7 separate regions of the Homo sapiens genome follow, and regions 2, 3, 4, 5, 6 and 7 are each linked to region 1. The links are contacts of gene promoters, found by promoter capture Hi-C in blood cells and fetal thymus (Javierre and others, 2016). All regions are on one chromosome and are shown on one strand. The core of a region is centred on a gene start or on the middle of the fragment in contact, and the rest is flanking DNA. Distances in the headings are between cores, read along the strand shown. Region 1 holds the start of SLC16A14 (solute carrier family 16 member 14). Region 2 overlaps GPR55 (G protein-coupled receptor 55). Region 3 holds the start of ITM2C (integral membrane protein 2C). Region 4 overlaps CAB39 (calcium binding protein 39). Region 5 overlaps CAB39 (calcium binding protein 39). Region 6 overlaps CAB39 (calcium binding protein 39). Region 7 overlaps CAB39 (calcium binding protein 39).

What was found. Contacts are between HindIII fragments. The CHiCAGO score rates a contact against its expected background, and 5 or more counts as called.
Region 2: a fragment that was not itself captured here is called in contact with the fragment with the promoter of SLC16A14 in region 1 in 1 of 17 cell types (total B cells); the score reaches 5.4 in total B cells.
Region 3: a contact is called between the fragment with the promoter of ITM2C here and the fragment with the promoter of SLC16A14 in region 1, in 1 of 17 cell types (total B cells). The highest score is 5.9, in total B cells.
Region 4: a fragment that was not itself captured here is called in contact with the fragment with the promoter of SLC16A14 in region 1 in 3 of 17 cell types (neutrophils, naive B cells and total B cells); the score reaches 6.0 in neutrophils.
Region 5: a fragment that was not itself captured here is called in contact with the fragment with the promoter of SLC16A14 in region 1 in 1 of 17 cell types (naive B cells); the score reaches 6.2 in naive B cells.
Region 6: a contact is called between a fragment that was not itself captured here and the fragment with the promoter of SLC16A14 in region 1, in 2 of 17 cell types (naive B cells and total B cells). The highest score is 7.2, in naive B cells.
Region 7: a contact is called between a fragment that was not itself captured here and the fragment with the promoter of SLC16A14 in region 1, in 3 of 17 cell types (total B cells, naive B cells and total CD4 T cells). The highest score is 10.0, in total B cells.

What each region holds. Positions count from the first base shown.
Region 1 is chr2:230,067,025-230,070,548 of GRCh38, reverse strand. It overlaps SLC16A14 (solute carrier family 16 member 14), which reads left to right and starts at 1,625. Exons shown (of 5, transcript NM_152527.5): 1 at 1,625-1,994. All of the region lies in intron 1 of LOC107985995 (a long non-coding RNA gene), which reads right to left. RefSeq lists enhancers at 1,562-1,621, 1,632-1,751, 2,147-2,917 and silencers at 1,982-2,251, 2,522-2,771. The HindIII fragment of the contact is 4,045 bases long and covers 1-3,128 here.
Region 2 is chr2:230,911,700-230,915,223 of GRCh38, reverse strand. The region is part of intron 1 of GPR55 (G protein-coupled receptor 55); the gene reads left to right. Among named protein-coding and RNA genes, the nearest start is that of GPR55, 12 kb to the left of the region's middle. The HindIII fragment of the contact is 1,588 bases long and covers 874-2,461 here.
Region 3 is chr2:230,863,217-230,866,740 of GRCh38, reverse strand. ITM2C (integral membrane protein 2C) reads right to left here and starts at 1,799. Exons shown (of 6, transcript NM_030926.6): 1 at 1,596-1,799. The coding sequence starts at 1,715. RefSeq lists silencers at 600-699, 1,490-1,579, 1,680-2,049 and enhancers at 483-1,139, 1,140-1,798, 2,457-3,115. The HindIII fragment of the contact is 7,451 bases long and covers 126-3,524 here.
Region 4 is chr2:230,818,999-230,822,522 of GRCh38, reverse strand. It overlaps CAB39 (calcium binding protein 39), which reads right to left. Exons shown (of 9, transcript NM_016289.4): 9 at 1,448-3,524. Among named protein-coding and RNA genes, the nearest start is that of ITM2C, 44 kb to the left of the region's middle. The HindIII fragment of the contact is 3,617 bases long and covers 209-3,524 here.
Region 5 is chr2:230,801,203-230,804,726 of GRCh38, reverse strand. All of the region lies in intron 5 of CAB39 (calcium binding protein 39), which reads right to left. Among named protein-coding and RNA genes, the nearest start is that of ITM2C, 62 kb to the left of the region's middle. The HindIII fragment of the contact is 4,096 bases long and covers 1-3,524 here.
Region 6 is chr2:230,783,363-230,786,886 of GRCh38, reverse strand. The region is part of intron 2 of CAB39 (calcium binding protein 39); the gene reads right to left. Among named protein-coding and RNA genes, the nearest start is that of CAB39, 72 kb to the right of the region's middle. The HindIII fragment of the contact is 5,725 bases long and covers 1-3,524 here.
Region 7 is chr2:230,757,544-230,761,067 of GRCh38, reverse strand. It overlaps CAB39 (calcium binding protein 39), which reads right to left. Exons shown (of 9, transcript NM_016289.4): 2 at 953-1,109. The coding sequence starts at 1,066. Among named protein-coding and RNA genes, the nearest start is that of CAB39, 46 kb to the right of the region's middle. RefSeq lists an enhancer at 2,049-2,148. The HindIII fragment of the contact is 5,262 bases long and covers 1-3,524 here.

The DNA.
Region 1 (3,524 bases), core at 376-2,875:
CTGAGGCAGGAGAATTGCTTGAACCTGGGAAGCAGATGTTGTAGTGAGCCAAGATTGCCACTGCACTCTAGCCTGGGTGACAGAGTGAGATTCCATCTCAAAAAAAAAAAAAAAAAAAAAGAGAGACAGAATTGATATAAGAAATAGCAATATAGGCCGGGTGCAGCGGCTCATGCCTGTAATCCCAGCACTTTGGGAGGGTGAGGCAGCCAGATCACTTGAGTCCAAAAGGTCAAGACCAGTCTGGGCAATATAATGAGACTCCGTCTCTATAAAAAGTCAAAAAAATTAGCCAGGCATGGTGGCGTGTGCCTGTAGTCCCAGCTACTCAGGAGGCTGAGGTGGGAGGATCACCTGAGCCCAGGAGGTTGAGGCTGCAATGAGCTGTGATCATGCTACTGCACTCCAGCTTGGGTGACCGAGGAAGGCAATGTGAAATACATGTGAATTTTTTTTCAAAGAAACGAAAAAGAAGGAAGAAAAGAAAAAGGAAAAGAAGAAAGAAGGAAATCTGTGGTAGGCAGAATAATGGTCTCCCAAAGATGTCCACATCCTAATCCCTGGAACATGTGAATTTGTTACCTTACATGGCAAGAGGGGAATTAAGGTTGCAGATGGAATTAAGGTTGCTAATCAGCTGACCTTAAAATAGAGAGATTATCTGGATTATCTCATTGGACTCAATGTAATCCCCAGGGTCCTTAAAAGTGGACAGGGGTGGGGGCAGAAAAGGGGAGACAAGGCAATGTGAGTATGGAAAGAAGACAAAATGACGCAGCAGTGCTGGCTTTGAAGATGGAGGAAGAGCCACCAGCCAAGGAATGTGGGCGGCCTGCAGAAGCTGGTGGCTCTCCCCTACAGCCACGAGAAGGAACACAGCCTTCAAGGTGGCCAACACCATGATCTCAGCCTAGTATGACCCATTTCAAACTTCCGACCTCCAGAACTGTAAAATAGTGAATTTGTGTGGTTTTCCTCTGCTATTACTGTGGCAGTTTATCACAACAGCAGCAGAGAATTACTGCAAAACCTTCAGGCGGGAAAAAACAGCACAGGCTTCATCGACTCACACATTCACTTCAATAATACAGAAAACTGTCCAAGGCAAAGCACTATGTTGTGTGCCCTGCTGGGAATGAGGTAGGGAGGTATTGAGATGAAAGTTGTGCCTGGTGCCCACGAAGGTAGGTAATGGACGTGCAGAAAGAGCAGGGAGAGGTGGGACCCAGGGTGGAAACAAGAATGAGGGACTGGCCGGTCACGGTGGCTCAGCTTGTGATCCCAGCACTTTGGAGGCCAAGGCCAGAGGATTCCTTGAGTCCAAGTGTTCGAGACCAGCCTGGCAATATAGTGAAACCCGTGTCTCTAAAAGAGAGAGAATAAGGGACTTTGAGTCCTCTTTGGCCAAAAATATTTCAGTGAGGGTCTGTTTCATCCCTTCTCTCCCATCTCAGAGAAATGGAGGCTACTGCTAGTCTCACTTGCATCCTGGATTAGATTTCAGGACCTTTCCGCCAGTGATAAATGTGCAGCGCCTTAGCGGAACCTCAGCCAAAGCTATAAACTTCAACCGGCCACAAGAGTGTGCATGTGAGGTGACTGCATTTTTTTTCCCTGCCAAACCAGAATTAGCCGGTATAGGAATGAACGAGCATGAAGATTTGAAATTGCTCCGATTGGAAGGAAGCCCAGGTTAGGTTTGGGCACCTCCAAACGCACCCGTTTTAAAGCCACCTGGACTGAGGCGTCGAGCTTTCAGCTCCACCAAACGCTCACCTGGCCTGGCAGCGAGCGGCGGAAGAGCCCGGGAGCCCCTCACAGAGCGCACCGAGCCGGGCGGAGAGCTGAGCCGCAGGCACCCGCGTCTCCAGGATGATAGGCGACATTGCAACAAATCTCTACACCCAGCAGCTCAGGGGGCTCCAAGCAGAGCAGCAAGTTCGAGGATCCGGGCGTGGAGCCGAGTGAGGCCGCAGCCCAGCGGGCCTCGGGCGGTGAGTATCCGAGGCCGCGCGCGCCGCGGGCCTGGGGAATGGAGCGACGCCGGGGGCATCGGAGCCTAGGTTTCAGATGGCCGCTGCACCCCCAGGGACCCCCGGGAAGGGGCAGCCCCAGCCCAAGGCAGGCTCGGGAAAGGCTGCCCGGGCGGTGGAGGGCGAGACTGTGCCGGGGCAGGTGGTAGTGCCAAGGCCGCCGCGGGGGCTTGGGAGCTGCGGGCGGGCAGGGTAACCGGCGGTTCAGGGCAGACCGCCAGGCGGAGCTTGGGGACGCGCGCCTTGCTGCTCAAGCTGGCCGGGGCCCCGCGAGCGTCATCCTGGGCACCCCCGTCCGGCTGGAGAAGCGCGTTCTGCCCGGAGCCCAGCCTCGCTGCCCGGCTGCTCTCTAGGCCCGTTTGGGACTCGAACTGGACAGTGATGAGGCGCAGAGCGGGGGACCCGGGGCTGCGCCTAGGGACTTCGCGGGGTGCGGATGCCTCTCTGCACAGGCTGTGGTGCTGCAGCCGGCCCAGCTTCCCCGGTGGGCTGCTGGCTTCCGAACGCGCCGAGGGATGCGGGGTGCCCGAAGTGGGGATGTGGTCTCGGGGTGCCAAGGGAGCGGGAGCACCGAGCGCGGGTGGGGGCGGGCGCTCGAAGGGTGGGGCGCGAGGCCGGACCCCGCGGGCACGATCCCGCACCCAGGGCGCGCAGAGGCTGGGCCCCCTTAGCGCTTCCGATTGAGGCTCCTCAAGAGAGGCTGAAATGGGGTGAGAGACCGGGGACGGCCATTTCGGGGCTAAACGCTGCCAAGGCCATGACGATGTTTTAGGAGCTGAACTCTGCTTTCCAATTAAGCCATTTTCTTTCTGAGGAAAAGTTGATTCGGGCTCATTAACAAGGATGACTGAGGGCCATTATTGGGGCTTAGAGAGATTCTCCTTTGCCTTGTCTGGCTTCTTTGTTTGCATGTGCGTGCGTGTGCGGCTGTGTGTGTGTGTGTGAGAGAGAGAGAGAGAGAGAGAGAGAGAGAGAGAGAGAAGAGAGGGGAGAGAGGCAGTGTTGGGGGTGGGAGGAGGTAAAACAGGCTTGGGATCCTGCAGGCCTGGGTTCCGATTTGGTTTCCACAGCCTGCTAGTTTAACCTTTCTAAGCTTCATTGCTCCCATTTGATGGCTCAGATTCTTCCTCTGTAAAATGCGGACATTCATGCCAATTGGACTGGAGGAGAAGCCACCAAGCACAGTCCCTGACCCAGAGCGAAGCATGTATGTGTTGAGTCCTCCTAATTCGGTGTGAATTTTTCGGTTCTGTTTTTCTCCTATGCTGTCTGCACCAGCTCAGCTCAGCTCCGCTCCCCAGCCTTCTCCGCGGCAGCCTCTTCAGCCTGCTGGCCGCAAGTGCGCCCTCTAAAGGCCCCAAATGCCCTGTACACACCAGGTGAAGAGCGCGGAAGCGCCTGCAGAGCAGAATTAAAGGTGAAGCCCGCACTCACCTGCGTGGGATGCAGAGCCGCTACCACCACGCTCTGCGTAGCTTTGGGGAAGACTGT
Region 2 (3,524 bases), core at 418-2,917, 840 kb before region 1:
GAGAACCCACTCCCAGGGTCCCTGACCACAGTCAGTGCAGCTCTGCTGCTTCAGGTCCATGGTGATGTTGATGCTGATGCCACTCTCTTTGGGCTACTCCTAGCCAGTGCCTGAACTGGGCAGAGGCACTAGCCTGGGGCGATTTCTGCGGATGTGGGGCTCCTCCAACAGGCAACCTTTGCTCAGAGATGCCCCATGGCTTGGCCAAGAAGGGCTGAAATCTGCACTGCTGTCTGAAGTCCTTCCCACCTTGTTGTTCCTTCCCTCTCTCCTTCCACAGAGTCAGACCTGCAGGTGGTCTGAAGGCTCACCCCACCTCCTCCTGCTCTCTCTCCCAACTATCCTTCATGGGAACTTCCCCTGTTTAATCTCTGAGTTGTCTAGCATTGTCTTAGCATCTGCTTCTCAGGGGACCTGAGGGGACTCAACCTCCCACCCAGCCAACTACAGTACCATTGCTTGATTGGGGTGGACCCCTGGGTTGGCCAGAACAGGAGCTGCTAATGGAATGGCCCCACACCCCACAAGTAGCAAATGGTGCTAGTTGCTGCCCCCCGCCCCGTTCCCCTCCCCCACCCACAAGTAGACTGGTTTTTATTAGCAAACTTCTTTGAGAAGGATGACTGTTTCATCTCTTGCTGCCGTTTGGAGTGCATTGATGCCTTTTTTTTATCTTACTACAGTGAGGCTTCTGATTTTTTTGAAAAAGACTCTAAAAAGATGGTTTCCTTGGACTTTCAGAGGGAATTCAAATTAATTTTTCAGATTCTCTGTTCACTCTGCCATTAGCCGGCAGTATTTTTTCAACCTAATTTCTTCTTGCCAGCCCATAGAGTGCCTTCTCTGGCTTCAAAGACTACCCTCTGAGAAGCTTCCATTTGAAGTCTGTCGGTAATTCAAATGTGACCTTTAGAATAATCCTACCGGGGAATACTGATGGCCAAATTGTGTCTATGAATATACCTGCTACTGTCAATGGAGACTCATCCCAGCACCTGAGGTTGTGTGCTTTCTGTCAGATCACTTTCCTCCCGTTGTTATTCGTTTGTTCCCCCAATTCAGCCACACACTGTGTCTGGGTTTGGGTTGGACTTTGAGCATCACCGATTGTTTTCTTGGCCACTTTGAACCACCAGCAATACGGTGGATTCATCCATGCAGTTGGCCGGTAACAGCTGACAGTAAGGGCCTCTGAGTGTTGAGCTTTTGTCATTGGTGGCTCCTTTTTCTTAATTGGTTAGTGTGACCCAGACAAAGACAGATGTCCTCAGTTCCCTTTTCAAAATCTTATTGGATCTCTTTAAACATAAACTTGTATTCATTCTTATCTTTGTGGTTCTTGGTTTTCTGCTGTTTCTGGTCTTGAAGACAACTTCTCCAAGCCAATTCCATCTTCCTCTTTGGTGTTGCAACATTTTACATTTAGACTTGAACTGGGCTTTGACCTGCTTTTCTCATCATTTTTGAAATTTGCCTTGTGAGTTCCAAGCTATTCCAGTAATTTTTTGAGCTAGGCCTGTGGCCATTTCAGCATGTTTAGTGAGGAGGCGGCCACCCCACCTTGCAGATTCTGAGCATCCTGAGTAGGACCAGTTACTCCTACACACCCCTAGGAGGCACCATCCCCACAGACCACAGGACACCAAGGCTTTGAATAAGAGGAAGTATTTTTTCCTAGATCTCTCATTACATAAATCTGTGAGAAAAGTTAACACATTGGAAACCATAGAATCTTTGGAAAGCCACCAAATCAAGTAATGTATGTTAAATGTTTAGTGCGTAGTGCTCAATGGATGATATATATATGAACCTATAAACATCTATCTATATATATCGATTTTCTTTTTCATTAGAGATCAGAGAGGGCTTGGGAATGGTATTACATATAAGATCTTAAAACACACCCCAATTTTTTCCTCCCACGGGCGCCCAATAGTGATGAGAAACAATAGCAGAATGAGAATTCTGTTAGCAATAGCTGCACAGCAAAGAAATAAGTCATAGGAATGCTTATTGTGGAATTCATTGTTTCCTGGTAAAATACTGGAAACCTAAATGTTTATGAATAAGCTACTGGCTAAATGAGTTTTGGTATACCTACACAATGGGAGGCAAACAAGCCATTCATATATGCTGATATAGACCAATGTCCAAGAAACATTGATGAGCGAAAAAGCAAGGGACAGGGGCTCTAGGTATATTATTTCCAAATTTTAAAGAAGTCATACATGTATATGTATGCATGCATATATTTGCATATATGTATCTACTTAGAAAATGTCTGGGAGGAATATGCAAGAAGCTGTAAGCCATGCTGCCTTTGAAAAGGACAGTTGAGGCCTTAGGGTACAAGGAGGCTGACTTTCCTACGCTTGTTCTTTTGTTCTCTTCGAATATCTTATTGAGCGCCTGGAATACTTTTAAAATTAATAAAAAGCTATGAAAAATAATAACAGAAGCTTTAATTAATAACAGAAGTTTTAGGAACAGGTGCGGGGCCTCCCGCCTGTAATCCCAGCACTTTGGGAGGCCGAGGTGGGTGGATCACCTGAGGTCAGGAGTTCAAGACCAGCCTGGTCAACATGGTGAAAACTGATCTCTACTAAAAATACAAAAAATTAGCCAGGGGTGGTGAGCGTGGTGGTGCATGCCTGTAATCCCAGCTATGAAGGAGACTGAGGCAGGAGAATCGCTTGAACTGGGGAGGCAGAGGTTGCAGTGAGCCAAGATTGTGCCACTGCACTCCAGCCTGGGTGACAGAGTGAGACTCCATCTCAAAAACAATAAAAATAAAAATAAAAATAAATAGCTGCAGTGGTCACTAGTATGGGATTCTCTGGTGGGAGTCCATGCTGATGTCTCCTCCCTGATACATCGATATCTTGGGATCTCAGCACCTGCTAGCCAGGAAGTCATGGGAGGTGGGAGAGGCACAGGAAGGTGGGTCTCACGGCAGGACCTGGCCGCACTTGCTCACCCAGCTGCTTTCTGCCGAAGTGGTTAAGGAAGATGCCAGGCATAAATGTCCTTTCCATGCCATGCCCCTGTGCTCTAGTGAATGTGGCACATTCCATGTCTAAGGCCAGTCCAAGTCAAGTACACCAGCAGCATGGCCTCACATGTGGGGAGAGGGAAGAGTGGGTGAGAAAGGAGGGAGCAGGGAGGTGGGCAGAGGCGGGCAAGTGGGGAGAGGGTGGAAGTTGGGTCGTATTTGAGTCCTTCTAGCAACCTGGTTCTGGATGCCTGGATTGAACACTTGGTTTTTTCCTGCTCCAGGGCTACATACCTTGATGCAGAACCCCACAATGGCACTCACCCCCTCACCCCAAATTGACCAGGCTCGGACCACACCCCTGTGCAACCACACCTGCAGCCTTGGTCCTCCCGTCCCTGAGGCCACTTCTAATTTTCTGCCCGACAAAAGGCCTTTCCTTGCCCTGTGGAGACCTCAGGGCCCCGCTCCATTCCTTCTGGGAATGCCATTTCTCCCATATCTCTCCATTTTCTGTCTGGTTTTCTCTTTG
Region 3 (3,524 bases), core at 550-3,049, 800 kb before region 1:
CCTCCCCAGGCTGAGTGGAGGGCAGCTTCCCTTCCAAAGAAAAGGAGTCTTGAAGAACCCCTTGCAAACTTTTAAAGCTGCAGAACCATCTTCTTCAAATATGGAGCGCCCCCTCCACCTAAGCTTCAGATGAAAAGGGGGGAGCTGCTCTCATGGGGTGCACAGCAACCCCCAACCTCGCCTAGGTGGTTGTTGAACTCTTGTGGCTCTGAGCCACTGGTTGCTGCAGTGACCACCATAAAAGGGCAGGGGGTTCTCAGTCTCCTGGCATTCCTCACTCAGGGTCTCTGCCCAGGCTGACACCCAACTCTGACGGCCCTCTCCGGCGCCCCCTCCTCCAGGGTCCAGGTCATCCTCTGCAGGCCCCTTAATGCCCCAGGCAAGACTGAACCTGAGCCACAAAACCTGGGGAGGGGGCTAGGCGTTCAGGAAGACTCTTCAGAAGCCTGCATCTGGAAGTGGGGAAGCAGTGGACAAAGACTTTCTCAGTCCTGCCTCAATGCGGGGTGGGGAGGCGGGGAGGACATGGGCTTGGTAAGCCACAAGACCGCTGGGGGCGGCGCCCACGTAGACACCTTTGCCAGGCACAATAAAACCTGGCTGGGCCAGCTCTCCCTCCCTCCCTGTCCCTGCCCGCCACGCGTTCTGCCCCCTGCGGGCCCTTCCCGGACACAAGGCACGCAGCTCAGACAGTTTTCCACGGCGGAAATGCCTTCTCTCCCCCCCGGCCAGAGGGAAAGTGGAGGAAGCCGGGGTAGGGGAGGGGGATGACAGGGGTGGGGGAACGCGCACAGAGCCCGGGGACCCAGGATGCAAGGGCACTGGGGCAGTTGGGAGCCCTCCCCGTGGGGTCGGGGGACAGCCCAGCGAGAGGCTGGGAATGGAGAAAAGAGAGGGGAGCAGGGAGGCCCAGACGGCAGGGCGTGGGGTGGGAAGGGGGCACCCGGCCTCGGACCCCCGACGTCCAGAGGCCGCAGCGCCGTCGGTTCTGGCTGATTTCCATTTCATCACTTTCTGGTCTGTCAATTCCGGTGCAGGCCAGCAGCACATCCTCTGTCCCTCGCAGCCCCCAATTTCGGAGGAAATCAACGGCCCCACCCTCTTCGTTGGTACCAGACCCCCCCACCCCCAATTCCCCAGCCAATCAGGTCCCACCGCCCTACTTTGGAAAAACTACGTCTAACCCTCCTCCCATCCCCCACCTGGGGACTCGACTCGCGGCTTTCCCAGTTGATTGGAACCAGACGCGTACCCCCCCACCAACATTCCTCGAACTTCTTCGGACCAGCCCCCTCCCCCTATAAGGCGGCGAGGGGGCCCCCACTTTTGGAAGAGACCTCGAGCACTTCTCCACCTGAAGACCAGAACCAGACGCCTCCCACTCTTCGGACTTCAGCTTTTGGCTGCCGCTTTAGTACGGGACTTAAGCCCCCTCCTCATTCTGGGATAAGCAACCATTCGAGACTTCCCAACCCTGCTCCACCCCGGGCTCTGGGGCCCTGACGCGCCTCGGGCAGTCCCCAGGGCCGACGGGGCGCGCCTGGGTCGTGAGCCTGGGTCCCCCGCCCCACCGCCTGAGCCCCAGACCCTCTCACCCTAGCCGGCGTCAGCAGGATCTCGGTGGCCGAGGCCGGCGCAGGGGCCGACGCCGACGCCTTGTCAGCCTTGTCGCCCTTGATGCCAGCCACGGCGGGCTGGAAGCTAATCTTCACCATGGCTGCGCCGGCCCGCGCGTCCGCCCCGCAGCCTCTGCCGGTGCAGCCTCGGTCTCTGCCTCCGCCGCTCCGAGCTCTGCAGGCACCGGAAGTTTGGATCCCGCTCGCGTCCCTCTCTCTAACCCCACCCCCAGCCCTCCCCGCCCCGTCCCCGCGGGAGGGCCCCGGCGCCCGCCGCGCCTGCGCCCCCTTCCCGCCCGCGGGGCCCGCAGTGACCCCTGCCGGGCGCGCCGCTCCGCACCTGGGGCGGGTCGGAGTTCCTTCTGCCGCTCGCTCGCACAGTCACTCACTCGCTCGCTCACTCACTCACTCACTCACTCGCTCACTCATTCATTCAGCCGTCACGCTCGGATCCGTTCTCCGTAGCATAATCCCTTCGCATTCCCTGTCCAAGGCCAGCATCCCCGCAACGCAAGTCTTTGTTAACCCAGTGTTTGCCAGGCAAATGCAGCTTCCAGACAACTCACCCGTCTCTCCTGCCCCACTTCAGGTCTTCCCCTTTAGAAACGCTGGAGCCTCCGCTCTACCTGTCCCCACGCCCCCCTCCTCCGACCTGTCCTTGGCGCGGGGAGGAGGCTTTGAGACAGGCGCCAAACTGCTGCCTCCGTCTTGCCTTCTGAAGCCATCCACGCCTCCTTCATCCTCCATCTTGCTTCTGCCTTCATTCTTTATTCCTGCAAAACCTTCCTGGGGGGTCCTGGGGTGCACGCTGGAGCCGCCTGGAGTGGAGAAGGGAAGGCCGCCCCTGCTCCCTGGCTCCTTCGTGTTGCTGCGACCTCAGTTATTGGGTGACCTCCTGAACTGCCCTTGTCTCACTCATCCAGGAGGACCCTGGCGAGAGTGGAGGGAAGACCCCCAGGGCGGGTGTCAGAGGCTCGGGTTCCACTCAAGACTCTGCTCCTCCCAAGTATCACGGGTACTGGGGAAGCAGGGGCTTCTGTTGCTGGGATGGCTGCTCTTGGCACTAACGCCCTGAATCTTTCCTCTTTGCTCCTGGTCCAGACTGGGCCAGGGACAGCGCCCAGCAACACACACAGGTTGTGCTGAGTGGTCCGCTTTGGTTCTGCTGTTGGGCTGCCAGTGGAGGGCAGGGGAGTCCGTCCGCTTCTTGAGGACAGTCCGGGGTCCTCCACTGATCTCTCTTCTCACCTTTCAGGTCTTTTGCAGCTGCCTTGGGCCCTTAGCGCCCACGTCCCAGACCCGGACCTCTTGGCTCAGATCTTGGATGAACCTAGCAACCTTGAGGACAGACAGGTGGGGAAAGAAGAAAGTCTAACTGATGCTAAGGCCACCAGCCTGGGGAACTGGGGGGAGGGAATGGGGAGGTGGAAGAAGACAGATGGTTTGGAGGAGACGAGGAGGAATCTGGTTTGGCACAGAGCCAGAGAGGAAGGTGTTATGGACTACCGCTCATCACCTGCTCCAGATCCCATGGGAAACCTGGTGTCTGGAGAAGGCAAGCTCCACGTCTTGCTTAGGCCACACCCCCAACATGCATTCCTTCACTCAGTGTTTTCCAAGCACCCCTGTGTGCCAAGCATTGTGTTAAGCTCTGTGGCAGAAAACAGAGATGCCCAAGACACAACCCAGCCACCAAGGATGTGGTCATGTGAAACCTTCTATGAGTGGCATTCTTTCACGTGCATTCAATTATTTAATTTTCATCACAGCCTCTGTGACCTACACATTAGCCTCATGTTAATAGTGATAGAAGGTAGCATGACTAAACCCAGGGTCGCAGAGCTGGTTTGGCACAAATCTCTGGTCAGCAAGACAGGGCCACCTGGGTGAAGCATCCACATGCCTGAG
Region 4 (3,524 bases), core at 768-3,267, 750 kb before region 1:
TGGAACCTACCCCACCTTCCAGCCACAGTGGGGACGGACACTTGGCTGCCAGTTCTCAGACATGAGCAAGGTTTTAGAGGACACTGTAAGGGCACACACAACATGAAGGCCTCATATAGCTGTGCAGTGACACAGCCTTGTGCAACCACCACCATCCTCTTCAGTCAGCGTGAATGCTGGTGGCAGGATTCCTGGAGGTTCGAAAGCTTAAGATCCTTATTAGGCACTTCTTGGGTCTAAAGTGCTCGGTGGCGGAGGTGTGCTGGTTGACCGCAAGCAGACTGTCAACGGGTGAAAGCGGATGGTATTCGTAGAGAAAAGCTCCAGTGGGTCTTTCTGCAGTACTGAGATTGCTGACTGGGGAGAATCTTACCCTGTCCTTCATGTCTTCTGGAAACCAGATGGTCAGTGAGGACACAGCCATGGCCAGGGAGAAGATTCCTGACACATCCGGGAGTACCTGAAGGGCGGTGTGTGCTGGGCTGCCCGCTCTTCCCCTAAAGGACAACTTTGGCACGTTGGCAGGTGGGCTTTCTCATGACCGTGAGTGGCTCTAACCTCCAGCATGAACAAGGTATTGGGCACTGACTGCAGCCTCAGAGCACTTCCCGATCAGGACCTTGTTGGAGCCTAACTAGGAAGGCTGGGTGAGAACTGCACTACTCCTGAGCTGCCTGAAGTGCAACGTTCTGGAGCTTCTTTGGCAAGGGGAGGAGGGCATTTGATGGGGGATTGTGGTAGGAAGTGGAATTTGAGCTGAAGCGTGAATCCAGTCCTCAGCCTGGTGATCCTTATAAGTGGCCAAGTCACAAGTTATGACTTAATGGGCCCTTGTCACCTTTGGGGAACTACAACGTACAAGTAGACTGAACTACTTGACAGAAATAACAAATAGGACATTGTTATTCGGATGAAGTGTTTTTGGCAAGAGCATGTCCCTTGCCTTCACTCCAGAGAATAAGATTTCATTTACTGACAGGGGTTAAAGTCGAGGGCAGGGCTGTGAACTAAGGATTACGAGGCACCCTGGAAGGCAGACGAGGGACATTCTTTACGGTGCCAGAGTTCTTGTGCCTGCTTCCACGGTCCCCTCGCCTTCATGATCATTTCACATCAGTAACCTGTGAATACTCCGGGCCGAGTGTTCTAGTTTAGCCTCGCGGTGTTGCTAACAGCGCAAGAGAGGATCTACTCCTCAAACGTTAGGGTCTAAGAAATGGTACCATTAAAAGGTGTGATTTTACTCAGGAAGGGTAAGGAAAACATGAGCACGGGGGCGGTGGGGGGGAAGTGAAGCCCCTGAACAGGGAAAAAGGCAGACAGGAATGGGTGTTAACTGTCCCTCCACTTTCAGTTGGTGATAAAATTCGGGCTTGTGTGTCTCCTGATGAAGCTGTTCACAGTAACACAAATGCAACTGTCTATAACACATCATAAAGACAGACAATGCTGTTTCTCCAAAATTTTATTTTAATTTAAATTACAGGGCCAGCCAGATATTCTGATAAGAAATTCACTTTTCCTTAGGAGAAAGAAAATGCTTTCATGGCATTGTTAACAAATGTATACATCTCCACTTTTTTAAGGGTTAAAAATCACATTAAGTAACTGCCTTATGTAAAATTAAACCTTTATAACACAAAAACCACTTCCAGTATAATAGTCTTGGTAATATGAATATATTAAATGATCATAACTTCAAATGCAACATTTCAAACTTAAATGTTTTCACATTGTTTTGCTTAAAAACAAAACCCACGAAGTCTGAACTACCTTCAGATTCCAATGTAAGAGTAACATGAATGTTGTGTCTGACACGCTGCACCCTCACTTCTTCCACCTAAAAGGCTACGACCTCACTGCCAAAGTGGAAGCTGTTCTAGATGTGTAAGTTCTAAGAATGAGCTTGGCAAGAAGACGTTTCTTCCACTTGGTGTAATCCATGTTTTTACACTAACTCCATACACACAGCACTACACCACAAAGCCAGGACACCACATCACGGCCAAGTCTTCCTTCCTAAACATCCAAGAGATTTTTTTTTCAAGGAGACTAGATTGCCTTATTTCACACAGATTCTGGTAAAGACAGTCTTGAGAAATGCCAATTATGATGTAGACTGCCATTTTAATAAAAATAAAATATATCTATATTTTCTGGAGCTATTTTCCTAACTGGTGTTCCTGAAGGTTTAAAACCTGCTGAAACAGCAATTGGGAGGCCCATTTTACTGGCCAGTATATAATTCCATTAGTAAGAGAGGCTAGCAAAGAATAATCATATCAATTTCTTAATCAGCTGCAGCCATGCTGAATTTGAACTGGCAAACTCTGATTTGTCAGTTGTTAGTTGTGATCTTCATATCACTAAAATGAACAGATACCATTCTAATAACTTTACATAGATATAGTCTAGAAGACATTGTTCTGCCGTGGTCACAGTAACAAAAAAGTGGTGCAAAATCAGTTACTTTATAAATACTGATAATTTGCAGCATTAAGGAACAGGACATTAAAAAAAATAAATTTCCCCATAGGACACCTATGACTAGGAAGTCGTCTTTTCCTAAGAGAAGCCAAAGTTTTAATTATTCAGTTCACAACTATTGTACTGGGTTACTTAGTCTAAGAAAGAAAAGGTGCTCTACAGAGATTTCCCACACACACAAAGAATCAGCATTAATTTAGCATAATCTCTATCATTCACAGATCTGGCAGATTCATTAACTCATTTAAAATGAATAAGGCCAATAGGATGCAGGAAGGTGTGGCTGACTGAGCTCCAGGGCTGTATCGCAGCTTATTGATGGCACCCCATTAGGTAACTGAATACAAAGGACTGGTTTACTTTCTTTTTCTTTTAATGCTGTGATACTTAAATGTTAAATCAGCATTTTCATGTGATCTGAAGTATTTCAATTACATATGAGCATTCATTGTTTTTTGCAAAAACTCAGTATTAGGTAATAGTTACATACTACTACAATAACATTCCTCTGCTGTACAAATTAAACCATTTAAAAGAAATGAGCATTCTAAGAATTATATACAAAAGAAACCTTGAAGCAGTGTTGAAATGAAATGCAAGGTGTCATTGCTAGCTCTACTGTTTTAAAGTATCTTTGAAAAGTAAAATTAACAAATACCCTTCAACATATCCAGGTTTACAAGTCTCAAGAAAATCAAATGTCAAAAAATTCTAGAAAGCTGTGAAAAGCATATATACATTTTCCTTATGATCTTATGAGGCTTCTTTACACTTTTAAGAAGTTGCTAAGTTTCAGTATCAATTTATTCGCATGTCAACTTTAGCTGCCCCCAAACTCCCATTTTGGATAGCTCCCCTCTGATTTCAGATAAAGCTCTGCGTCATCTTCCTTCAGCGAAGGTGCGCGACCTGAAGGTGCGCGATCTGACGCAGGGATGCCAGGTGTGCACTTGCCACACTGCACTCAGATCGCCAACAAAGATGGGTGCAAACACATAGGTCTAATCTGATATCAGTGCCCTCTTTCCTAAACCACA
Region 5 (3,524 bases), core at 416-2,915, 730 kb before region 1:
ATCGCCATTCTAACTGGTGTGAGATGGTATCTCATTGTGGTTTTGATTTGCATTTCTCTGATGACCAGAGATGATGAGCATTTTTTCATGTGTCTGTTGGCTGCATAAATGTCTTCTTTTGAAAAGTGTCTGTTCATATCATTTGCCCACTTTTTGATGGGGTTGTTTGATTTTTTTCTTGTAAATTTGTTTAAGTTCTTTGTAGATTCTGGATATTAGCCCTTTGTCAGATGGGTAGATTGCAAACATTTTCTCCCATTCTGTAGGGTGCCTGTTCACTCTGATGGTAGTTTCTTTTGCTGTGCAGAAGCTCTTTATTTAGATCCCATTTATCTATTTTGGCTTTTGTTGCCATTGCTTTTGGTATTTTAGTCATGAAGTCCTTGCCCATGCCTATGTCCTGAATGGTAGTGCCTAGGTTGTCTTCTAGGGTTTTTATGGTTTTAGGTCTAACATTTAAGTCTTTAATCCATCTTGAATTAAGTTTTGTATAAGGTGTAAGGAAGGTGTCCAGTTTCAGCTTTCTACACATGGCTAGCCAGTTTTCCCAGCACCATTTATTAAATAGGGAATCCTTTCCCCCATTTCTTGTTTTTGTCAGGTTTGTCAAAGATCAGATGGTTGTAGGTGTGCGGTGTTATTTCTGAGGCCTCTGTTCTGTTCCATTGGTCTATATCTCTGTTTTGGTACCAGTGCCATGCTGTTTTGGTTACTGTAGCCTTGTAGTAGAGTTTGAAGTCAGGTAGTGTGATGCCTCCAGCTTTGTTCTTTGTGCTTACGATTGTCTTGGCAATGCGGGCTCTTTTTTGGTTCCATATGAACTTTAAAGTAGATTTTTCCAATTCTGTGAAGAAAGTCAGTGGTAGCTTGATGGGAATGGCATTGAATCTATAAATTACCTTGGGCAGTATGGCCATTTTCATGATATTGATTCTTCCTATCCATGAGCATGGAATGTTCTTCCGTTTGTGTCCTCTTCTATTTCGTTGAGCAGTGGTTTGTAGTTCTCCTTGAAGAGGTCCTTCACATCCCTTGTAAGTTGCACTCCTAGGTATTTTATTCTCTTTGTAGCAATTGTGAATGGGAATTCAGTCATGATTTGGCTCTCTGTCTGTTATTGGTGTATAAGAATGCTTGTGATTTTTGCACCTTGATTTTGTATCCTGAGACTTTGCTGAAGTTGCTTATCAGCTTAAGGAGATTTTGGGCTGAGATGATGGGGTTTTCTAAATATACAATCATGTCATCTGCAAACAGGGACAATTTGACTTCCTCTTTTCCTAATTGAATACCCTTTATTTCCTTCTCTTGCCTGATTGCCCTGGCCAGAACTTCCAACACTATGTTGAATAGGAGTGGTGAGAGAGGGCATCCCTGTCTTGTGCAACTTTTCAAAGGGAATGCTTCCGGTTTTTGCCCATTCAGTATGATATTGGCTGTGGGTTTGTCATAAATAGCTCTGATTATTTTGAGATACGTTCCATCAATACCTAGTTTATTGAGAGTTTTTAGCACGAAAGGCTGTTGAATTTTGTCAAAGGCCTTTTCTGCATCTATTGAGATAATCACATGGTTTTTGTCTTTGGTTCTGTTTATGTGACGGATTATGTTTATTGATTTTCGTATGTTGAACCAGCATTGCATCGAAGGGATGAAGCCCACTTGATCGTGGTGGATACTCTTTTTGATGTGCTGCTGGATTCAGTTCGCCAGTATTTCATTGAGGATTTTCGCATTGATGTTCATCAGGGATATTGGTCTAAAGTTTTTTTTTGTTGTGTCTCTACCAGGCTTTGGTATCAGGATGATGCTGGCCTCATAAAATGAGTTAGGGAAGATTCCCTCTTTTTCTGTTGATTGGAATAGTTTCAGAAGGAATGGTACCAGCTTCTCCTTGTACCTCTGGCAGAATTTGGCTGTGAATCCGTCTGGTCCTGGAGTTTTTTTGGTTGACAGTCTTTTAATGATTGCCTCAATTTCAGAGCCTGTTATTGGTCTATTCAGCGATTCAACTTCTTCCTGGTTTAGTCTTGGGAAGGTGTATGTGTCCAGGAATTTATCCATTTCTTCTAGATTTTCTAGTTTATTTGCATAGAGGTGTTTATGGTATTCTCTGATGGTAGTTTGTATTTCTGTGGGATCGGTGGTGATCTCCCCTTTATCATTTTTTATTGCGTCTATTTGATTCTTCTCTCTTCTTTTTTATTAGTCTTGCTAGCGGTCTATCAATTTTGTTGATCTTTTCAAAAAACCAGCTCCTGGATTCACTGATTTTTTGAAAAGTTTTCTGTGTCTCTATCTCCTTCAGTTCTGCTCTGATCTTAGTTATTTCTTGCCTTCTGCTAGCTTTTGGATGTGTTTGCTCTTGCTTCTCTAGTTCTTTTGTGATATTTGGGTGTCAATTTTAGATCTTTCCTGCTTTCTCTTGTGGGCATTTAGTGCTATAAATTTCCCTCTACACACTGTTTTAAATGTGTCCCAGAGATTGCGGTAGGTTGTGTCTTTGTTCTCATTGGTTTCAAAGAACGTATTTATTTCTGCCTTCATTTCGTTATTTACCCAGTAGTCATTCAGGAGCAGGTTGTTCAGTTTCCATGTAGTTGTGTGGTTTTGAGTGGCAGAAACCATCTCTTTAGACATACTTTCTAGAACCTTACACAGGCACAGTCTGGTGAGGCTACCTTCTTTTATTCTAGAACATTGGAAACATTTTTGGCTTTCTAATGCCCCTCTCCATCTCCTTAATTCCTCAAAAAAGAAAAAAAAATTTACAAATATTTGGCCATCTGGTTTACTATCTGAGCATCCATTTATTCAAGCTATGAATTTTGGACATATTTAGAGCATTTTTTTTTTTTTAAACAGAGTCCCACTCCGTCGCCCAGGGTGGAGTGCAGTGGAGTGATCTCGGCTCACTGCAACCTCTGCCTCCCAGGTTCAAGGGATTCTTATGCCTCAGCCTCCTGAGTAGCTGAGACTATAGGCGCATGTCACCACAACTAATTTTTTGTATTTTCAGTAGAGACGGGGTTTCATCATGTTGGCCAGGCTGGTCTCAAACTCCTGACCTCAGGTGATCCACCCACCTCAGCCTCCCAAAGTGGTGGGATTACAGGCGTGAGCCACCATGCCTGGCCTAGAGCAGTTCTAATTTCCTTTAAAGACTCAGCACCTGTTCCAGGGCTATGGATGAGCCACATGTTTGGAAATTTTTGTGTGCAGAGCACGTTTTCTGGGAGGGCGCTCTTGCCACATTCTCAAAGGAAAGCATGAACCATAGATCTATTCTTCTTTTCCATTATAAGAATATGCTCTGCAAACAGGAGACTAGCAGCAAGACAGGAGAGGAGCAGCAACGTGTCCCTCCTTGTCAGCGCCTCTGGTGTGCAGCTGTAAGGCTGTTCCTGCTGGTCTTCCTTTCTTCCCTGACTGGAGTTTCTTTCAGGGAGGAGTAGGAAGGTGACTTCCACCTGTCTGCTAGTTTAGCTACCCTGAAATTATGATGGGAGGTCTGTCCTCTCTTT
Region 6 (3,524 bases), core at 482-2,981, 720 kb before region 1:
TTCTGGGCCAAGAGAAAATCATTTAGCAATAGTAGGTGTTCTCTTACAATCTATCTGCATGTATTGGGTTTTCTACTCCATTTTACTATCTCTATTCTTCAGATAATTCTCTTTGACAGGAAGAATCTGATACCTAATAGGTTTTGTGAATGCATTATCTATTGATTCTACACCAGTGACCATAAGTAGGAGGCCTCAGCCTCCTTTGCTTCTCTGGTTAGATCAAAGTTTTAAAGCTCTTAACAATTCTTCATGTACCTCAGTTTATACTTTATTATATGATTTTCAAATTTGAATTCAGACCATATTCTATTCTGACAGCAAAAGATGAGTAAGAAAGAAGGGAGGTGAATAACTAAAGGGTACAGGTTTGTGAGGTGACAAAATGTCCTAAAATTAACTGTGGTTATGGTTACACATATTTGTGAATAAATTAAAAACCACTGAATTGTACCCTTCAAATGGGTGAACTATACGGCATGTAAATTATATCTCAATAAAGCTGTTCCCCCCATCCCCACCCCACCCCCCAAAAAAAGGAAGGAAAGAGAGAGACAGGAACATAATTAGAAAGCTATTTATGGCTGGGTGTGGTGGCTCACGCCTGTGATCCTAGCACTCTGGGAGGCTGCAGCAGATAGATCACTTGAGCCTAGGAGTTTGAGACCAGCCTGGGCAACATGGTGAGACTCCATCTCTTTTTTTTTTTTTTTTTTTTTTTTTGAGACAGAGTCTTGCTCTGTCACCCAGGCTGGAGTGCAGTGGCGCAATCTTGGCTCACTGCAAGTTCCACCTCCCGGGTTCATGCCATTCTCCTGCCTCAGCCTCCCCAGTAGCTGGGACTACAGGCACCCGCCACAACACCCGGCTAATTTTTTGTACTTTTAGTAGAGACGGGGTTTCACCGTGTTAGCCAGGATGGTCTCGCTCTCCTGACCTTGTGATCCGCCTGCCTCGGCCTCCCAAAGTGCTGGGATTACAGGTGTGAGCCACCGCGCCCGGCCAAGACTCCATCTCTTAAAAAAAAAACACAAAAGTTAGCTGAGTGTGGTGGCATGCACCTATAGTCTCAGCTACTCAGGAAGCTGAGGCTGAGATCAGGAGGTTGAGGCTGCAGTGAGCTATGATTGCACCACTGCACTCCAGCTTGGGTGACAGAGCAAGACCCTGTCTCAAAAAAAAGAGAGAGAAAGCTATTTGTTGTACTTCTGAATTGAATGGCATTGTGGACTCTGTATAAAGCCCCCTTCTCTTTCAGAAGGAATTCCCTCACCAGCTGATACTGCACCCGCCACCTACATTAATCCTCATCTGCTTTTGGATCTCCCCACCCCCATGCGTTCTTAGGAACTCACCCTGCCTGTTACCTCACCTCCTCCTCACAGAGTCAATCTCCCCTCACCTAATTTCTTCCTATCAGTTTTAAACCTGATTAAGACTCCATTTGACAAAATCGAATAGGCCCTCCTTAGATTCCACAACCGCCCCCTGCCCCCCTGCCCCCCTGCCCACGCGCCCCTGCCCAGCTACTACCCACACCTCATAATTAAACCTCTCAAAACATTTGCCTGTATTTACCATAGTCCAAGTCTTTTTCCTCACTCACTCTTCAGCCCAATCCTTTTGGCTAGTCACTGACCTGCATGTCATTAAATACAATTGTGTGTCTTTATTACTGTGAGAAATGGGGAAGTTCTTTTTCAAAGATTATGAAAAGTCACAATTTCTTACTATAAGATTGCTGTGCACTATTAGTGTGTATATGTATGTATTCCAAATCAGCTCTCCTAGCTTGCTCCAGCATGCCTGGACAGAATTAGGCACACCGGAGCCCACAGTGCATGCCATTCCTTATTTGGAGATGCTTCCTTAACTAGTCCTGGACAACTTCCTTTTCTTTGTTCTGTTCCCCTTACCTATTTAAGAAAGTTTTAAACTAATAGCCAATAGGATAAAGTGTAAAATGTGAGGTCCTATCCCAGCCAATGGAAACTGGACACAGCAGTAGGGTAAACACGTCAGGTTATAAATAACTCTGTCTCCTTTGTTCGGTGTGCTCTCGTGGCCAGACAACTATTGAGTAGCACCCTTTCTGCAGAAAGTAAAGCTCTCTCTGCTGAGAGATCATTTCTTCCCGCGTTAATTCTTTTTTTCTCTTTTTCCCGACACCAAAAACTTCATTCCCAACAATTACACCTGAACTTTCCACAGGATTCGGAATTGCTGATTACACCCGCCTCTGAAAACCATTCTTCTGGTCCTCCGTGACTCACCACCATCCTTATTTTCCCTCCTAACTCTCTGGTTGCTCCTTCTCTGTCTCCTTTTTGCCTCATTCACCTTGGCTAGGCCATTTAAACACAGGGAATCCCGCAAGGCAGGGTACTAGGGCTTCCTCTTCTTATTCTCTAGACTCTTAAGTGATCTCATCCACACCCACTGCTTTAATTAACAGTTAAATGCAGATGCCTCATAGATTCCTATCTCTAATCCAGTTCTTTTCTCCCAGGCCTTATCAGTACCACTGGGCAGCCTTCTCAAAATGTCTCCACTCGTAATGTCTCAAGGTACCTCAAATCGAATACATCTAAAATAGAACTCAAGATCTCGCCCTAGTGCCTGATATCCTGCCTTGTTCCGTTTCATGTAATGATACCACTGATGATGTTACTACACGTCAGAAATTTAGGAGTCATCTTCAACTCTCCCCTCTTCACCTCGCCCCAATAGCTAACTCATCACTGACTCCCAAATCCATCCATTTATCCCCGTCTACCATCACCACCCAAATCAAAGTTCCCATAACTCTTGCCTAGATTAATATATCGTGTACTGACTGGTTTCTTTGGATTGCAGGGGGCCTAATGGGGATGCATTCTCCACATCACACCTAGAATTATCTTTTCATAACATAAATATGACTAAGACATTGCTGTTGCTTAAAATGCTTCATACATTATTGATGAATGGCTGAAAATCAGCATTCCTGATCACAGGGTTTAAAATTCAGATTACAAATGGATGTAGAGAAATGTGATGTTATCATACCATGAAGTCAAGGGATTCCTTAAAAGTGTTTAATTGAGGCAGGCCACAGTGGCTCATGCCTGTAATCCCAGCACTTTGGGAGGCCAAGGCAGATGGATGGCTTGAGCTCAGGAGTTCGAGACCAGCCTGAAAAACATGGTGAGAGACCCTATCTCTCCTAAAAATACAAAAAATTAGCTGGGCATAGTGGTGCATGCCTATGGTCCCAGCTACTTGGGAGGCTGAGGTGGGAGGATTGCTTGAGCCTGGGGGGTGGGGGTGGGGAGTGGTGCAGAGGTTGAACTGAGCCGAGATGGTGCCACTGCACTTCATCCACTGCCTGGATGGCAGAGCGAGAGCAAGACCCTGTCTCAAAACAAACAAAACAAAACAAAACAAAACAAAACAAAACAAAACTAGACAAGAACAGACTTCCCTCTAAGAACGGGCAACGAAATAAATCACCTGAGATGTGAAAAAATAACTGCAGTTCAAAG
Region 7 (3,524 bases), core at 724-3,223, 690 kb before region 1:
AAAAAAATCCAAACTCTGAAACACTTCTGATCCCAAGCATTTTGGATAAGTGACACTAAACCTCTACAATTTACTTAGAGAAATAAAGATCAGATCACGAAGATCCTGTGTGTTACAAGAAGAATCTACACTGAAAATGTAAAGCAGAGATTTTTAGAAAGTGCAGTAAGAAGGCTACTGCTAAAATCACAAAGAGTATGAACAACTTCTTCAAGAAGGAATGGAAGTCAGAACTGAATCATAAACAATTTAGGGAGTTGAACAAGATTTAGTGAAAAATTATATTTTAGGGAAGAGAGGGCAAGTCACAAGTGGGATGAAAGTTGGGTTTTGGACTGTGGTGACTGGGTAGATGGAGGCATTTGGCACGGATACACTGAATACAGGAAGAAAACCAGGAGGGGTGTCCTCCCAGGAAGATTGTGGGGGAAGAACCGATTTCAAGAATCAGGTAACTGTGGCACTTATAGCTCTCAAGTTGCCTGCTTGGCCTTCTTTCAAGTATACTTTACTTCCTTTTGTTCTTGCTCTAAAACTTTTACAAACAAACCAACCAAGCAGATAACTGATAACTGTAATCCTAGCACTTTGGGAGGCAGAGGCGGAAAGATCGCTTGAGGCTTGGCGTTTGAGACTAGCCTGGGCAACATAGCACAACCCTGTCTCTACAAAAATAATTAGTAATAATAAATAAATAAATTAGAATCAAACACTTCAAGATGAAATAAACACAATTTAAATAAACTCGAAAACCTGACAGAACAGTTAGAAATCTATTTGTTAGACGAAAATACAGAAGAAAAAGTATGTTGCAACAGCAGCATATGTTGCTTTTGGATGTTATTTTTAAAATCCAAAATAAACCCAAATTGGGACTTACTGATTCCTCATATAAGGTGTCTTGCATTTGCTAATTAAGATATTTCAAATATAAATAAAGCCAAATCCATACCTTTTCTGCTTTTTTATCAGAAATGTCTTGCTTTTCCAGAACAGCCATGCTCTCCTTCAGATTCTTCACAATGTCTGCTGGAGATTTGTGAGACTTCCCAAACGGGAACGGCATGACGGCAGCGGCAGGGGCCTCCGCTGCACTCCGCCTGTGCTACCTAGAACACAGCACAAGGTTCATGTGAGCAAACACTGGGATCAACGGAAGACAGACTTTCTAAATCCTAATCTGGGAAGAAAACCCGTGTTTAGGCAAGTCATTTTACATAACTTTCAAAATCAGTAGGAACAGGGAAATCCACAAATATATGCAAGAAATGATAATACACAGATGTCTTAGAATTACAGAACACTGTATTTTTCAAAACACTTTGTTTTTCTTTCCTTCAAATCAATTGCTCTCCTAACCACGCAAATGGGGACGAACATGCTGACTGATGCTGCTGAGGTAGAGAGCAGCAGCTCCCACTCACAGGGCAACTGCTACTGCCAGGCCTGATGCTGAGCACTAGAACTCATCATTTCATGAAACCCTTTCTAACAATCTCCTGCTCCTATTTACTGGTGAAGTTTAGCAAGGTTGAGCGTGAGGCTCAAGGTACTAAGTGGTCAAACAAGCTCAGATCTGTCTTGATCCAAAGCGTCCTTAATCACCACACTGTACATCAAATTGATAGTATCTATTTTACAGCTGAGGCAACTGAGGCAAAAAGTTAGGTAGGGTGTTTAGCCAAACAGCACTAGCAACAGCCTACTATCTAGGTCTCTCCAGATGCTCTTTTCCCGGTGTTCACGCTGCTCCTCCTAAGCACCCCAGTGGGCTGCCCTGAATATGGCACACACTTCCTCGGCACACCCATCTTATTCAGGCAGTCACAGGGTCTCAGAGCTAGAGAGAAGCCTGGACAGGGGAATAAAATCTCCCATTAGATCCTGTAATCCCCTATGTGACAGTTGTCAAGATGTACTCTTTTTGCCTGGATTTGACCATCTCCTATGAAAGAACTCGCTGGATAAAACCCTGAGGATGATGAACTTCTAGAAGTTCTTAATTTTTTGTGGGTAGTAGAAAACAACATTTCAACCACATAAACCACAGTATTACATCATCCAAAAGGAGAACATGCAACTATTCCAAGAAGGCACTATGAAGAAACAAAGTTAACAAGACAAACAATGGAAGTGACTTGGGAACATGTTGGAAGTTACCATTTTTCAGTAAAAAAACTAGAAGTAGTTAAATTCACAGGCACTAAACAGTCTCCTATCAGACACCGAAAGATGACACTTTTTAGAAAAACCTTATGGATCACTTAGATCAGTGGTTTTCTGACTGTAAGTTTCAACATCCTATATTTAACTGCCCAAGGTGCTCCCCACACACACCCAAGAAAAGGTGGCTCTCAGACACCCCAACCCCACTTTGTTTTCCCCTTCTATATAAACACAAAAATACATCCATTGCATAGTATCATAACACTTCTTTTGAGCTTTACCTAAGATTTGATGAACAAACTTGAGTGTTTTTCCCTTAAGTTTGAAATAGAGTGACTTACATATTTGTTTATAAAGAATGTTTAAAACATGCAAATGAATGCTAATGTCAAGCCTACAACTAAATCATAAACAAGTATGTTATTTCTCAACATGTTCTGATGTGAACTGTTCCAACCAATCTCTAACCCCAAATATTGCCTATCTTACCTTCTGTCACCTTGTAAATCCTTTTTTGACAAAATTAACCAAAGAGAAATAGTTTAATGCATATCCTTTGTCATAGGTTCTTAAATATCCAAGGATTTTTTTTTTTTTTTTTTTTGGAGTCTCGCTGTGTCACCCAGGTTGGAGTGCAGCAGCGCAATCTTGGCTCACTGTAATCTCCACCTCCCAGGTTCAAGTGATTCTTGTGCCTCAGCGTTAGCCTCCCAAGTAGCTGGGACTATAGGTGTGCACCACCAACCCAGCTAATTTTTGTATTTTTAGTAGAGATGGGTTTTCACCATGTTGGCTAGGCTGGTCTCAACTCCTGGCCTCAAGGGAGCCACCCACCTCGGCCTCCCAAAGTGCTGGGATTACAGGTGTGAGCCATCATGCCCAGCCATAAAATCCAAGGATCTTTAAGTCCACTTCTAAATAACTTTTCTATGCCTAAAAGTTTGAACTGACGTTAGGGGAGTCACTCTTAACTAGCTGTCATATGATCGCTCTACAAGCCAGATGGGACACAAAGCCTGGATCATTCTTTTCCTTTTCCTGGATCATTACTTTTTCCTTTGGGCAGGGGAGTGGGCGGCAGGGGGTGGGGGGGAAGCATGCAAGTTGCTTCTCCATAAACAGTGTATCACACTCACAATATGTCCTCTGAAAATATTATCTTTCCTATCTGTAACTCTGCAAATAATAGCAGTGATGTGGAGGGTGGGAATGTTTAATGGTATTTTGCAGGAAGTGTTACGGTGCTATGCAACAGAGATATTTTCAGCTCTGGCTCAATGGTGAAAGATGTGACTTTCCAGGGTAACAGAGGTTTACAAGTCCTACCACATACCAAAAGTTGGTTACAGCAGAAAGAG